Linked DNA regions of Homo sapiens: regions 2 and 3 are each linked to region 1. Evidence: promoter capture Hi-C in human tissues and cell types (Jung and others, 2019). All regions are on one chromosome and are shown on one strand. The core of a region is centred on a gene start or on the middle of the fragment in contact, and the rest is flanking DNA. Distances in the headings are between cores, read along the strand shown. Region 1 holds the start of COG1 (component of oligomeric golgi complex 1). Region 2 holds the start of LOC107985005 (a long non-coding RNA gene). Region 3 overlaps LINC00673 (long intergenic non-protein coding RNA 673).

Region 1 (4,074 bases), core at 85-2,584:
ATACTCACTGGGTCACCTATCAGCTATGTAATTTGGGCAGGTAAATAAGCTTTTGTTTCTTTTTTTTTTTTCCTCATAAATGGACTAGGAATATTACTCCTACCTACCTGGCATGGCCGATGTGCGAGAAAATGAGATAATCTCGTGGACAGGCTCTGAAAACTGCACTTTTACTGAGTAAAAAACCCTTTGCCTCTCCGGGCCCCCGTTTCCCCATCTGTAAAATGAGTCTGTAAAGTGAGAATGATACTCCCTACGCCGCAAGGCTCTTGCGGGTTAAACTGGAATATTATAAATGCACCATTTATTTGCAGATTGAAATTCTGTGCGTCCGGAGGTGGCGGGTGGGAGAGGGAATGAGCAGGGATGCAGGGTAGGCCCTGAGTTGCTGGGGGCTCAGCATGGCCGCTGCGCACATTGCATCATTTTGTCGACACTGGTGTGGGTGAAATCTTCCAAAAGAAATTAAAACAGAAAAAAAAAAAAAGAAGGGTCTGGGACTTAGCAGAAACAAGCCACAATCTCCAGATTCTACTATTCCTGGGCCACGTGAGGAGCGCCCACCCGTCTGGCGCTGCGTTCCCCGGGGCGTCCCAGCCTCTCCCGCCCAGCCCGCCGCCCTCCTCCCCCATGGCCACCAAGGTCAGGCTCTCGCAGGGAAAACGTCTTCAGGGGCTAAACATCGGTTTTAAACGAAATGGAAAACCTCCAACACGAATCAACAGCAGAGGAAAAGCAGACGCCAAACAAGCGCTCAGAACCCCTTCAGGGGCGGCGTGGTAGCTCTTCCCGGGGAACAGCGAGGGGCGCGGATGTCCCTCTTCCTAAAACTGCACGCGGGGTGCGATCCGAGACCCAGCGGCGGCGAGCGCGCCCGAGTCTGCTCGCGGGCGCCAGGCGCGCGGAGAGCGGCGGCTGCGCCTGCGCCAACGCCGTCAGTCCGCGGGGCCCGATCCCGACACCTAACTCCACAGAGAAGCTCTGCTCCTAAGGGAAAGGGAAGACTTCAGCCACAGTTTCGCAGCCAACCTGGCGACCTCACCTCTCTGGCGACCTCACTTCCCAGCCGGCTCCGTTTAAGAAAACCCCGCGCAGGACCGCGCCCGCCCCCGCGCCCGCGCCCGCCCCCGCCCCCTCGCGCCCGCCCCCTCGCGCCCGCCCCCTCGCGCCCGCCCCCTCGCGCCCGCCCCCTCGCGCCCGCCCCCTCGCGCCCGCCCCCTCGCGCCCGCCCCCTCGGGTAACAAACATGGCCCCCGGCGGGGCGGAAGCGCTTCCGCCCCCAACGAAGATGGCGGAGGGGGCGGGACTAAAAGGGCGTAGGTAGATCGCCGGGGGCTGACGAGTGCACCATGGCCACCGCGGCAACCTCACCCGCGCTGAAGCGGCTGGATCTGCGCGACCCTGCGGCTCTTTTCGAGACGCATGGAGCGGAGGAGATCCGCGGGCTGGAGCGCCAGGTTCGGGCCGAGATCGAGCACAAGAAGGAGGAGCTGCGGCAGATGGTGGGCGAACGGTACCGCGACCTGATCGAGGCGGCCGACACCATCGGCCAGATGCGCCGCTGCGCCGTGGGGCTAGTGGACGCCGTGAAGGCCACCGACCAGTACTGCGCCCGCCTCCGCCAGGCCGGCTCGGCCGCGCCCCGGCCACCGCGGGCCCAGCAGGTCAGTCCCCGTGCCCCCACCCTGCGACCCGCAGGCGGGTCCCGGAGCCCCTGGCCTTGCAGGTCAACCCCGCCCCCCTCTGTCAGTCCCAGACCCCGCGAGTCCTCACCTTCCTTAGCCAGGAGCCTATCCGCCCCTCACCCTTTGGGCCCCCCTCAGAGGACAGTGCCAGCCTTCCTTGCACATATGCGGCTGCTGATCCGTTCTGGAAATGCCATTCAACAGTTTCTTCAGGCGCTTTCCCCCGACTTCCGGGCCTTGATTCCTACACCTCACTGGGCTCCTTTCAATTTTAGCGGAAAACGCCAGGAGTTTCTGTCTTGACAGTTCAACGCTCACCTATATAACATGTCCTGACATTGTTTTTCCTCAGGTTTCTCCCCTATGTTGACACCTGCACTCCAAGTCATTTCTTCCTCATCCCAACCTTCCCCTTATCTCCCCAAGAATAACTTCCACAACCCCAAATAGCTGTTCTACCCTTTGGGAGTTGTTGAGGGTACCAGCTATCAAGCCCTTAACTTTATGTATGTATGTGACAGGGTCTCCCAAAGTGCTGGGATTACAGTCATGAGCCACCACAGCCGGCCAAGCCCTTACCTTTTAATAGCTGAACATTTTCATTTTCAGAACTAAGGCTTTTTTCATTCAGGTTCTCCTTATCCCGTGTTCTTCCCCCCAAACGCTATTGATTAGACACAATGAGGAAGGATGGGAGGTAAACAAACACATCCTCATATTGGAGCTGCAGCTTGCGTTCCTAAAGAATTTTTATTGGCCGGGTGCGGTGGCTCACGCCTGTAATCCCAGCACTTTGGGAGGCCGAGGCGGGTGGATCACGAGGTCAGGAGATCCAGACCATCCTGGCTAACACGGTGAAACCCCGTCTCTACTAAAAATACACAAAATTAGCCAGGCGTGGTGGCCGGCGCCTGTAGTCCCAGCTACCTGGGAGGCTGAGGCAGGAGAATGGCATGAACCCGGGAGGCGGAGCTTGCAGTGAGCCGAGATCGCGCCACTGCACTCCAGCCTGGGCCACAGAGCGAGACTCTGTCTCAAAAAAAAAAAAAAAAAGAATTTTTATTTCTTTATTTTTTGAGACAGGATCTCGCTCTGTCACCCAGGCTGGAGTGCAGTGGCGCGATCTCGGCTCACTGCAACCTCCGCCTCCCGGGTTCAAGCGATTCTCCTGCCTCAGCCACCCGCGTAGCTGGGATTACAGGCACCTGCCACCATGTCCGACTAATTTTTGTACTTTCAGTAGAGACGGGGTTTCACCATATTGGCCCGGCTGGTCTCCAACCCCTGACCTCATGTGATCTGCCTGCCTTGGCCTCCCAAAGTGATGGGATTACAGGCGCGAGAGCCACCGCGCACGGCCCCTTAAAGAATATAGACCTAGCAATGAACGAAGTGAAAGGGCATGAAGGGTGAAAAAGGTAAACAGTTAGTTGTTTTTAACAGCCTGGGAGAACTTACTGGGACATAGAAGAAAAAATTGAAAAGTACAGTCTAACTCCAATTTGGAACTTGTTCATGCTATCTGAGCTTTACAGAAATCCTGGTCAGTAGACTGGACTGACACAATAAAACTATAGGAAGTTGCAAATAAGTTTGCATATTTTTGAAATGAGTGACCTCATCCCTCCCAAAGCTAACATTTAGTACACGTGTCCCCTTAGGTGGCCAGCCTTTGCTGTAACTGAGTCATGCTTCAGGGTTTATTAAAACGCTAACTTGAATTATGCCTGATTTTAGAAACGTATTGATTTTCATAGTTGTTATATCTGGTTTATTCTCGGTTAACCCTACAAAAATTTGAGTGTCTTCTTCGTTCACATTACAAAGAAACAGAAGTCCCCCAATTCCTGCTCTGAAGGAGCTTACAACCTGGTCGAGGAAATAAATCCATGGAAACTTGACGAGAAAAAAATGTAAAAAAATTTAGAATAACAGGTCAGGCGCTGTGGCTCATGCCAGCACTTTGGGAGGCCAAGGCAGGTGGATTGCTTGATCACAGGAGTTTGAAACCAACCTGGGCAACACGGTGAAACACCATCTCTACAAAAAATACCAAAAAGTGAGCGGGCATGGTGGCACATGCCTGTGGTCCCAGCTACTTGGAAGGCTGAAGTGGGAAGATCTCTTGAGCCCAAGAGGTCAAGGCTGCAGTGAGCCATGATCGCACCACTGCACCCCAGCCTGGGCAACAAAGTGAGATGCTGTCCCAAAAAAAAAAAAAAAAAAGGCTGGGCGCGGTGGCTCAGGCCTGTTATCCCAGCACTTTGGGAGGCTGAGGCGGTGGATCACTTGAGGTCAGGAGTTTGAGACCAGCCTGGCCAACATGGTAAAACCCTGTCTCTACTGAAAATACAAAAATTAGCCAGGCGTGGCGACACGCACCTGCGAT
Region 2 (4,065 bases), core at 472-2,971, 560 kb before region 1:
GATTTCTAAGATAAACTGATTTTCCACCTAAACGTCTGTAGCAAACAAACTATCAATCAAGTGTGACAAAAACATTTTAGAATATGCAAGTTCTCAAAAAATTTTCCTCCACAGAAAACTATGGAAGGATATGCTCCATCAGAATGAGGGAGTAAATCAAGAAAAAGGAAGATTTGGGAGAGCCTGGCAGCAGAGTATTTCATTCAGGGATTGCCTAGGGTGGCATAAAACAGATCCATGAGCAAAGAGACATTTATTGTGCTCAAATACAAAAGTCCGGTGGGAGCAGTCACAACGCAACAGTTTCGTGATATCCCAATGTGCCCAGTGCTGACTGTCTGTCTTGTATTACCAAAGCTGGTGTACAGACTCCATCCTCATGCTTGCCTCATGGTGCTATGGTGGCTGTCCCATCTCTAGCTTTTCATCTGTATTCCAGGCAGGAAGAAGAATGCAGCAAATGAGAAAAGAACAGCCTCTACCTCAGAAAAACAAAACTTTCTTAGAAAAATTATCAGCAGGCTACTGCTTTTGTCTCCTTGGCCAGAATTGTGTCGCCCTGTAGCTACAATGGGCTGGGAAATACAGTTTTTAGGTTGGTATATTAGTTTCCTATTGCTGTTGTAATAAATAACCATGAAGAGTGGTTTAAAACAAAGCAAATGTATTATCTTACAGTTCTAGAGGTCAGAAGTCTGAAGTGGGTCTCACTGGGCTAAAATCAAGGTGTCCTTGGCAGGGCCAAGTGCTTTTCTGGAGGCTCCAGGGGAGAATTTGTTTTTTTATCTCTTCCAGCTTCTAGAGGCCACCTATTTTCCTTGACTCATGGCTCCTTCCTCTGTCTTCAAAGCTTGCAATGGCCAGTTGAGTCTTTCACACCTCGTACGACTCTGACTCACATTCTTCTGCCATCTTTTTCCATTTACAAGGACACTTGTGATTACATCTGTCTATTGGGAAAATCCAGGGTCACTTCCCCATCTCAAGGTCAGCTGGTAAGCAACCTTAATTCCATTTGCAACCTTGAATCCCCTTTGCCATGTAACATAAGACAATCACAGCTTTTGGGGATTAGAACACAGACATCTTTTTTGTTTTTATTTTTATTTTTAATAGAGATGGGGTCTCGCTTTGTCATCCAGGCTGGAGCACAGTAACGCAACTGTAGCTCACTGCAGCCTTAAACTCCCAGTCTCAAGCAATCCTCCCACTTTGGCCTCCTGAAGTGCTGGGATTACAGGGATGAGCCACTACATCCGGCCAGGACATAGACATTTTTAGGAGACCCTTATTCTGCCTACTATCTACTATACTGGGCATAGTAGATATAGTTGCAGCTTGGTATAAAATCTGGGTCATTTTACTTTTTTTGTTTGAGACGAAGTCTGGCTCTATCGACCAGGCTGGAGTGCAGTGGTGCCATCTTGACTCACTGCAATCTCTGCCTTCTGGGCTTGAGACATCCTTCCACCTCAGTCTCCCAGGTAGCTGGGACTACAGGCACACACCACCAGGCCCAGCTAATTTTTGTATTTTTTGTAGAGATGGGGGTTCACCATGTTGCCCAGGCTAGTCTTGAACTTGTGAGCTCAAGTGATTCACCTGTCTTAGCCTTCCAAAATACTGGGATTACAGGCATGAGCCACAGTCCCTGACCCGGGTCATTTTATTTAGTATGAAGGGAAGTGTGAATTTAGGCAGGCACACATGCTAAGGATTATGGAGTGGAAAGATGGGAGGAGGCAGGGGTCCCCAGTGGTACCACAGAGTCACTTCTCCAAACCCAGACTGAACCTCTGCTGTACTTCAAGTTACACGAGAGACATCTACCCTTATGTGGTTAAGCTGCTTTAGCAAGGCTAGAGTTCCATGAAGCCCAGTGTAAGCCCAAGGAAACTTTCACGTTTTCAGGTAAGAATTCAATAGATAATGTTTAAAACCAAAACAAGGAGAAATGCCAGGATGAGCATGGTATTGGGAAGTAGGAGGTAAATATCAAAAGAAACATCTAAGTCAGAATTTAAAGAGGTGCCCCCAGGGAGCAGATTCAGAGTTGGGGAAGTAGAGGGCAGAGCATGGCTGACTTCCTTCAAAAATGGTTTTCATGCCATTTGACTTACTAAACTTCATTTATCTGTTATTATGCCTAATGAAAATCAATTTTTAATTTAAAAGTGATGATAATAGTTTGGAGCACCTATAGCAATAAACTAGGACGTGCAAGAAAATGATCTACCCATGCAATTCCCCCAACCGGGCTGCATCAGGCTGGAAGGGTCATGAAATGGTTCCCACAGGGGCCACCGTGGAGCACAACCAGGAGGTGAGACACAGCCTTGGCACAACAGTGGTCCACATTTACCTTCCCCAGCGAGGGTCCTCAGCATCCTGCTAGCCCTCCTGAGCTACAAAGGACAGGAAGTTGGGGCAGATTTGTTTTCTTTCCCTAACAAGATCTTATTTTAGGAGCAGAGCTCAGAAGAGCAAACAGAGAAAAGAAAAGTCAGGGGCTGGTTTCAGGGAGAAGAGTGACCACGGGCCATTCCTTGGGCCATGTCTGCTTCTCTAAGCCTGGCCCTGGGGAACAAAACTTAGATCTTGATCATCCAGCATAGCTCTGGCATGCTGAGCGTGTGATACACCTGTCTCTACCGTCAGGCAAACGAGTGGGTTCACAGGCAGAGGCCTGCCCTGCCAAACAATGCTCCCCTTTGTCCCCGCCCAGGGCTCAGGAGCCGCAAGGAAGCCAAATCCATCAGCACTTGTCAGGGCCCTTGATGCACACAATGCAAGTTATGATCCACAGTCCCCGGCAAAGCCCCAGGCTTCCAGCAGGCAGCATTAACTGACACGCAATGTGTCAGTCAGCCTTCTAAAAGCCAGGGGTGGGGATCCGTGCCAGGGGGCCACTGAGCTCTCATTCCCAGAAGCCAACCAGAGCCAGTGAAGGGGCCGCAGAGACTCCGACACATCATTTTCATAAAAACAGCCCAAGGAGAGCATTGCATTAGGAAAAATCATTTCCCGTATTGGCAGCGGGCTCTTCTGATGGCTTTAGCAAATACCATACACACCGAAGCAGTGCAGTGCGCGCCCTTGGCTCATGTGCCCGACCGCATACGGGACAGACCAGGGATGAGGGAGACTGGAAGTATGAATTCCCAAATCAGACTCCCTACAAATGCAACACCGCCTGCAAAGGGTCGCCCCTCCTTCGTAGCCAGCAAGGTGGCAGGCTTTACAGAAGCAAGGGGATTTTGTGACCAAAAAGAACCTGGAAGCGGCCTCCATGGATGCTGCCAAGGTTATTGTGTGCACTTCTTGATGCATCCTGCAAACCACTCTGGGCTGTCCTATTCTGTTCGGTCACCTCCTCCCTGCCTCCACCCTCCCACCACGTGACTGCCAGTCACCAGGCCAGGAATATCACAAGCGTCTTCCTTGGGCAAACAACCGTTCCTCTGCAGACACCTAGACTGACCTTGGCACTCGACACAGAGGGAGGGGACAGAAGACGAGTGTGTGTTCAAAGTCTGCAGTCCCCTGGGGAGGGGTCACTGGCACCATCTGCCTTCGCTACCGGGGCAAGGCAAGTTCAGAGCTACAATTAGTGCTGATTCAGCCATGGTCCCTCGGTCTCATTCCCTAGGCTTCCCTACAAGCCTAATTATGGGCATGAAATGAGCTAGTGAATGAGTTTTCAGAAAAGCAAACGTTCCCTTAGAAATACAAAATATTTGAGCCAAATAATATCAAGTAAGATTTTGTTGTTTTTGGGCAAAGGTCACTGTTTAACTTAAAGGAAAGCAATAAAATATATGCAATATATAAATTCTATAAATTATAGTTATAGAGTAAATTATAGTAAATTTATACAGTAAATTATAGTTATATAGTAAATTATATAGTATCACTTCTTTTGGTGTGATAATGGTATTGGAGTCATGTAAAAAAGAATGCCATTCCTTCTCAAGATACATACTGACCTGTTTATGAATAAAATGACAAGATGTCTGTTTGTTTTTTTATATATTTTTTTTAATTTTTTGGGGGACGGAGTCTCAG
Region 3 (3,830 bases), core at 40-2,539, 650 kb before region 1:
GGCTCTTTGAGAACCGCTGACTTGAAGTGGGCCTGCTCGCTTTGCTAAACAAATATGGGTAACTCTGGTCTTCCAAAAAGAGCTCACAATTCTGTCCTCCCTGGAAGCTACAATTCAATCATCCTCTTCCAAACGTCCAAATCCCAGCTTCAGTGAGGCTATCTCACACAGCAACCTGCCTGGGAGTGACCTGCATGCAAAACTTCAAGAGTTTGAGGGAAACTTGAGGGAAACTTGCAGAAACCAGCTTGCCAAGGAAAAACGCTCCCAGTGCGTTCAATGAAAAAGCAGGCGACCCAGCTAAATGAGTAAACTGACCCAATCGGGGGGATGAAAGGGAACGTATATCTATGCAATGACAATAAATCGTGGAAAGACATATTAAAATACAAAAGCCATTTCTAGACGCAAAATCATGGATGTGTTTTATTTGCTTCTTTGTGTTTTCTGGTATTTTTACAAAACTGCACTGCAGAATGTTTGGAATCAGATGAAAAGTTCATTTCTGAGAAGCCTCCTTCTTTTCTCTTTTAAATTTTCTTCTTTTGCATTCCATTTTGGCCAGCTCGCTTGAACTCTGCGTTCAAACGCCTTTCTCTCCCAAGCAAAAGCTCCAGGAGGAATCTTCTGGAGCAAAGTTAGAACCGCAGGGAAGCTTGAAAAGAGGAAACAGACCAGCCTGGCCGGTGGAGGTTAAATTAAACTACAGTTCTCTAGCAGGCCTCGGGCTTGGTCAGGAGCTATTGGTAAGACGGCAGAAACGGAGTACAGGCCAATAAACAAATCAAAACAAAAACAAGAAGCAAAGAAAGAAAGAAACATGTTTTAAGAAGAATAAAGTCATTAGGTGGCAAGGGGCCTCTGCAGGACCATCCAGGCCAGGGAGAAAAACACCACCAAGGACCCAAACTTCTTTCACTGGGGAGCTGCAAGCAGGAGGCGCTGGCTCTGAGCAGTGGCTTTGTGCTTCGGGCAGAACCGGCCGCGAGGGCTGCGCCCCACCAGCCGCGCGCCGGGAGGGCGGACGCGCCGGGCACAGCCAGGCGCCGGGGGTGACCGCGGCAGCACCGGCCCGGCGGCTGGAAGCAGACGCGCCGCTCCGCCCGCGCCCGCGCCCGGTGGAGCCACAGCGCCATCAAGTGGCCACTCGGCGAACGGCCGCACGGGGAAGCGGCTCAGGCCCAGGGAAGAGGTCCAGGGTTCCCAGCCGCAACTGTCCCTGGGGAAGGGTCTGGACCTGCCAAGCTGCCACTCCAGGGCCTGAGGCAGGAGCCTGCAGACGGACACCAGCTGTCCAGGCGCACTCCACCACCCAGGGCTGCCCCAGAGGATGTTCGGGAATCCTGTCTCCTCCTTCGGGAGAGAGGTTACTTTTGCAGTCCCAGGCCCATTCTCTTCTCCAGCAACTTGCTCACAGTTTAAAAGGTTTGGTTCTCAGAGAGTGGCGCCAGAGCAAAGGGGGCATCTCGCTGCTCTGGGGCATCCTGCAGGGGATGGCGCAGATCTGGGGTCCATGTCTGTGAGCGGACACCATTGGAACATGTGTCTAGAGAATCTGGGCGGGATCACTGCCCACAGCCCTTCAAGGCCCACAAACCTACAACACATCTCTCCTGGAAACAGCACGTGATCCCATATGCCCCCTGGTCTTTGGGTACAAATTATGGGGTGACTCAAGAAGAGAGCACGTGATATGGTTTGGCTGTTTGTTCCCTCCAAATCTCATACTGAAATGTGATCTCCGGTGTTGGAGGTGGGCCTAGTGGGAGGTGTTCGGATCATGGGGGTGGATTCCTCATGAATGGTTTGGTGCTATCTTCACAGTAACGAGTGAGTTCTCACTAGAACAGTTCATGTGAGCTTGGCATGGTGGCTCACACCTGTAATCCCAGTACTTTGGGAGGCCACGTCAGGTGGATCCCTGGAGGTCAGAAGTTCGAAACCAGCCTGGCCAACATGGTGAAACCCCATCTCTATTAAAAATACAAAAAAATTAGTTGGGCGCGGTGGCACGCACCTGTAGTCCCAGCTACTCGAGAGGCTTGAGGCAGGAGAACTGGTTGAACTTGGGAGATAGAGGTTGCAGTGAGCCAAGACTGTGCCGCTGCACTCTAGCCTGGGTGACAGAGCAAGACTCCATCTCAAAAAAAAAAAAAAAAAAAGAAAGAAAGAAAAGAGTTCATGTGAGATGTGATTGTTTAAAAGGGCCTGGTACCTTCCCCCATCTCTTGCTTTCCCTCTTGCCATGTAACATGCTGGTTCCCGTTTACCTTCTGCCATGATTGGAAGCTTCCTGGGGCCTCACCGGAAGCCAAGCAGATGCCAGGGCCATGCTTCCTGTACAGCCTGCTGAACCCTGAGCCAAATAAACCTCTTTTCATTACAAACTACCTAGGCTCAGATAGTCCTTTATAGCAATGCAAATGGACTAACACACCCCATGATCTCCATCCACAAACCACTGGAGGAACCCAACACAGCAACGGAAAAGTTCTCAGAGCACCAATCAGGAATATGCATATTAATATGAACACTATAACAGGAAATTACAGGAAAAGCATAGAGCGTTTGCTCTGTGCAAAGCACTGTGCGAATTCCTTCTGTACTTTATCTTCTTTAACCTTTACCACGACCTTAGGACATGAGTTTTTTATGATGTTTGTTTGTTTGTTTGTTTGTTTTTTACAGAAAAGGAAATGGAAGCACCCAGAGGTCCAAAAACTCACTCAAGGTTGCCTGGCCTGGAGTCAGAGCCTGAGAGCCAGCTCCTTCACTTACACTCCTTGATCCCATCTTTCCATCCATCCCCCAACCCCCAGCCGTAGGTGGATCCAGGTTTTGTGAGACCTGAAACATACATGTTTTCTAGAGGGAGAGGCAGCCTCTTTAAGATATGAAGTTGTAAATACACAGTTGAGGCCAGTCAGGGAGGGCTGTGTAGGGGAGGGGCTCTGCCTCATCTCCACAGTAGATCCACCCCTGCTCTTTAGACAGCCCCCTGCCCAGGAGCTGGCTTTCTGGAAACACTCCTCCGCATTGCCCCTCACAGCCATTTCTCTGGCTTCTGCAATTGACTTCCACGCCCACCCTGCCCCTGAAACTGCTCTGACTCAAGGTCACTCAATGACAGCCCAACTGCCAGGTACAATGAGAGCTCTCAGTGCTTCCCTCCAAGAGGAATTTGCAGCCCTGACATTTGCACTCCTGGAAGCCTCTTGTCTCCCAGCATCCAGGACACCACGATCCCCTGGCTTCCCTCCTACCGTCCAGCCCCACTTTGTCTGTGTTCCTCATCAGTGGATCTTCTGTGGACTGCTCCTAAAACCCGCAGGTGAGCACAGAACAGGAAAGAGCGTAGCCTCTCAGCCAGCCAGACCCGAGGTTTGGTCCCAGAATCCCAGTTAACAGCCGTGTAACCATCAGCAAACGGGTCACCCTCTCAGAGCCCATTTTTCTCTTCCGTGTAATTGGGGTTGTACATCAGAAGTTATTTAGAAGATTAAATGAGATCCTGTGCTTAGTATGTTTAATAGGATGCCTGCCCCAAAGCAGGGATCCCGGATCACTGCTGAGGGTCCCTGTCAGACTTGAGCTCCAATCCATCAATCTGTCCTGCGCACCAGATTAATATTTCATTGTCTGCAGAATCAGATCACCCAGGATCCCTCTGAGGAATGCATCTTGTCTGAGAGTGCCCTTCCCACCACCATCAAGCCTGCCTTCCTCCCTTTTTTGCCAGTTTCTGAACGACACCACTGGCAATTCAGATTCAGCATCCAGACATCCAGGATTCATTCTGAATCCAGCCTCCCCTGCAGGAAACATGGCCC

Evidence for each region. Contacts are between HindIII fragments. The study calls those that stand out against the background at their distance.
Region 2: a fragment that was not itself captured here is called in contact with the fragment with the promoter of COG1 in region 1 in 2 of the 25 tissues and cell types used here (IMR-90 fibroblasts and dorsolateral prefrontal cortex).
Region 3: a contact is called between a fragment that was not itself captured here and the fragment with the promoter of COG1 in region 1, in 1 of the 25 tissues and cell types used here (hippocampus).

Annotation. Positions count from the first base shown.
Region 1 is chr17:73,191,721-73,195,794 of GRCh38, forward strand. It overlaps COG1 (component of oligomeric golgi complex 1), which reads left to right and starts at 1,335. Exons shown (of 14, transcript NM_018714.3): 1 at 1,335-1,664. The coding sequence starts at 1,350. RefSeq lists enhancers at 562-1,321, 607-656, 1,287-1,566 and a silencer at 1,617-1,826. The HindIII fragment of the contact is 14,916 bases long and covers 1-4,074 here.
Region 2 is chr17:72,628,987-72,633,051 of GRCh38, forward strand. The region is part of intron 2 of LINC00511 (long intergenic non-protein coding RNA 511); the gene reads right to left. LOC107985005 (a long non-coding RNA gene) reads left to right here and starts at 646. Exons shown (of 3, transcript XR_001752991.2): 1 at 646-995. The HindIII fragment of the contact is 4,687 bases long and covers 1-4,065 here.
Region 3 is chr17:72,539,375-72,543,204 of GRCh38, forward strand. All of the region lies in intron 1 of LINC00673 (long intergenic non-protein coding RNA 673), which reads right to left. Among named protein-coding and RNA genes, the nearest start is that of LINC00673, 52 kb to the right of the region's middle. RefSeq lists a silencer at 979-1,228. The HindIII fragment of the contact is 3,812 bases long and covers 1-3,195 here.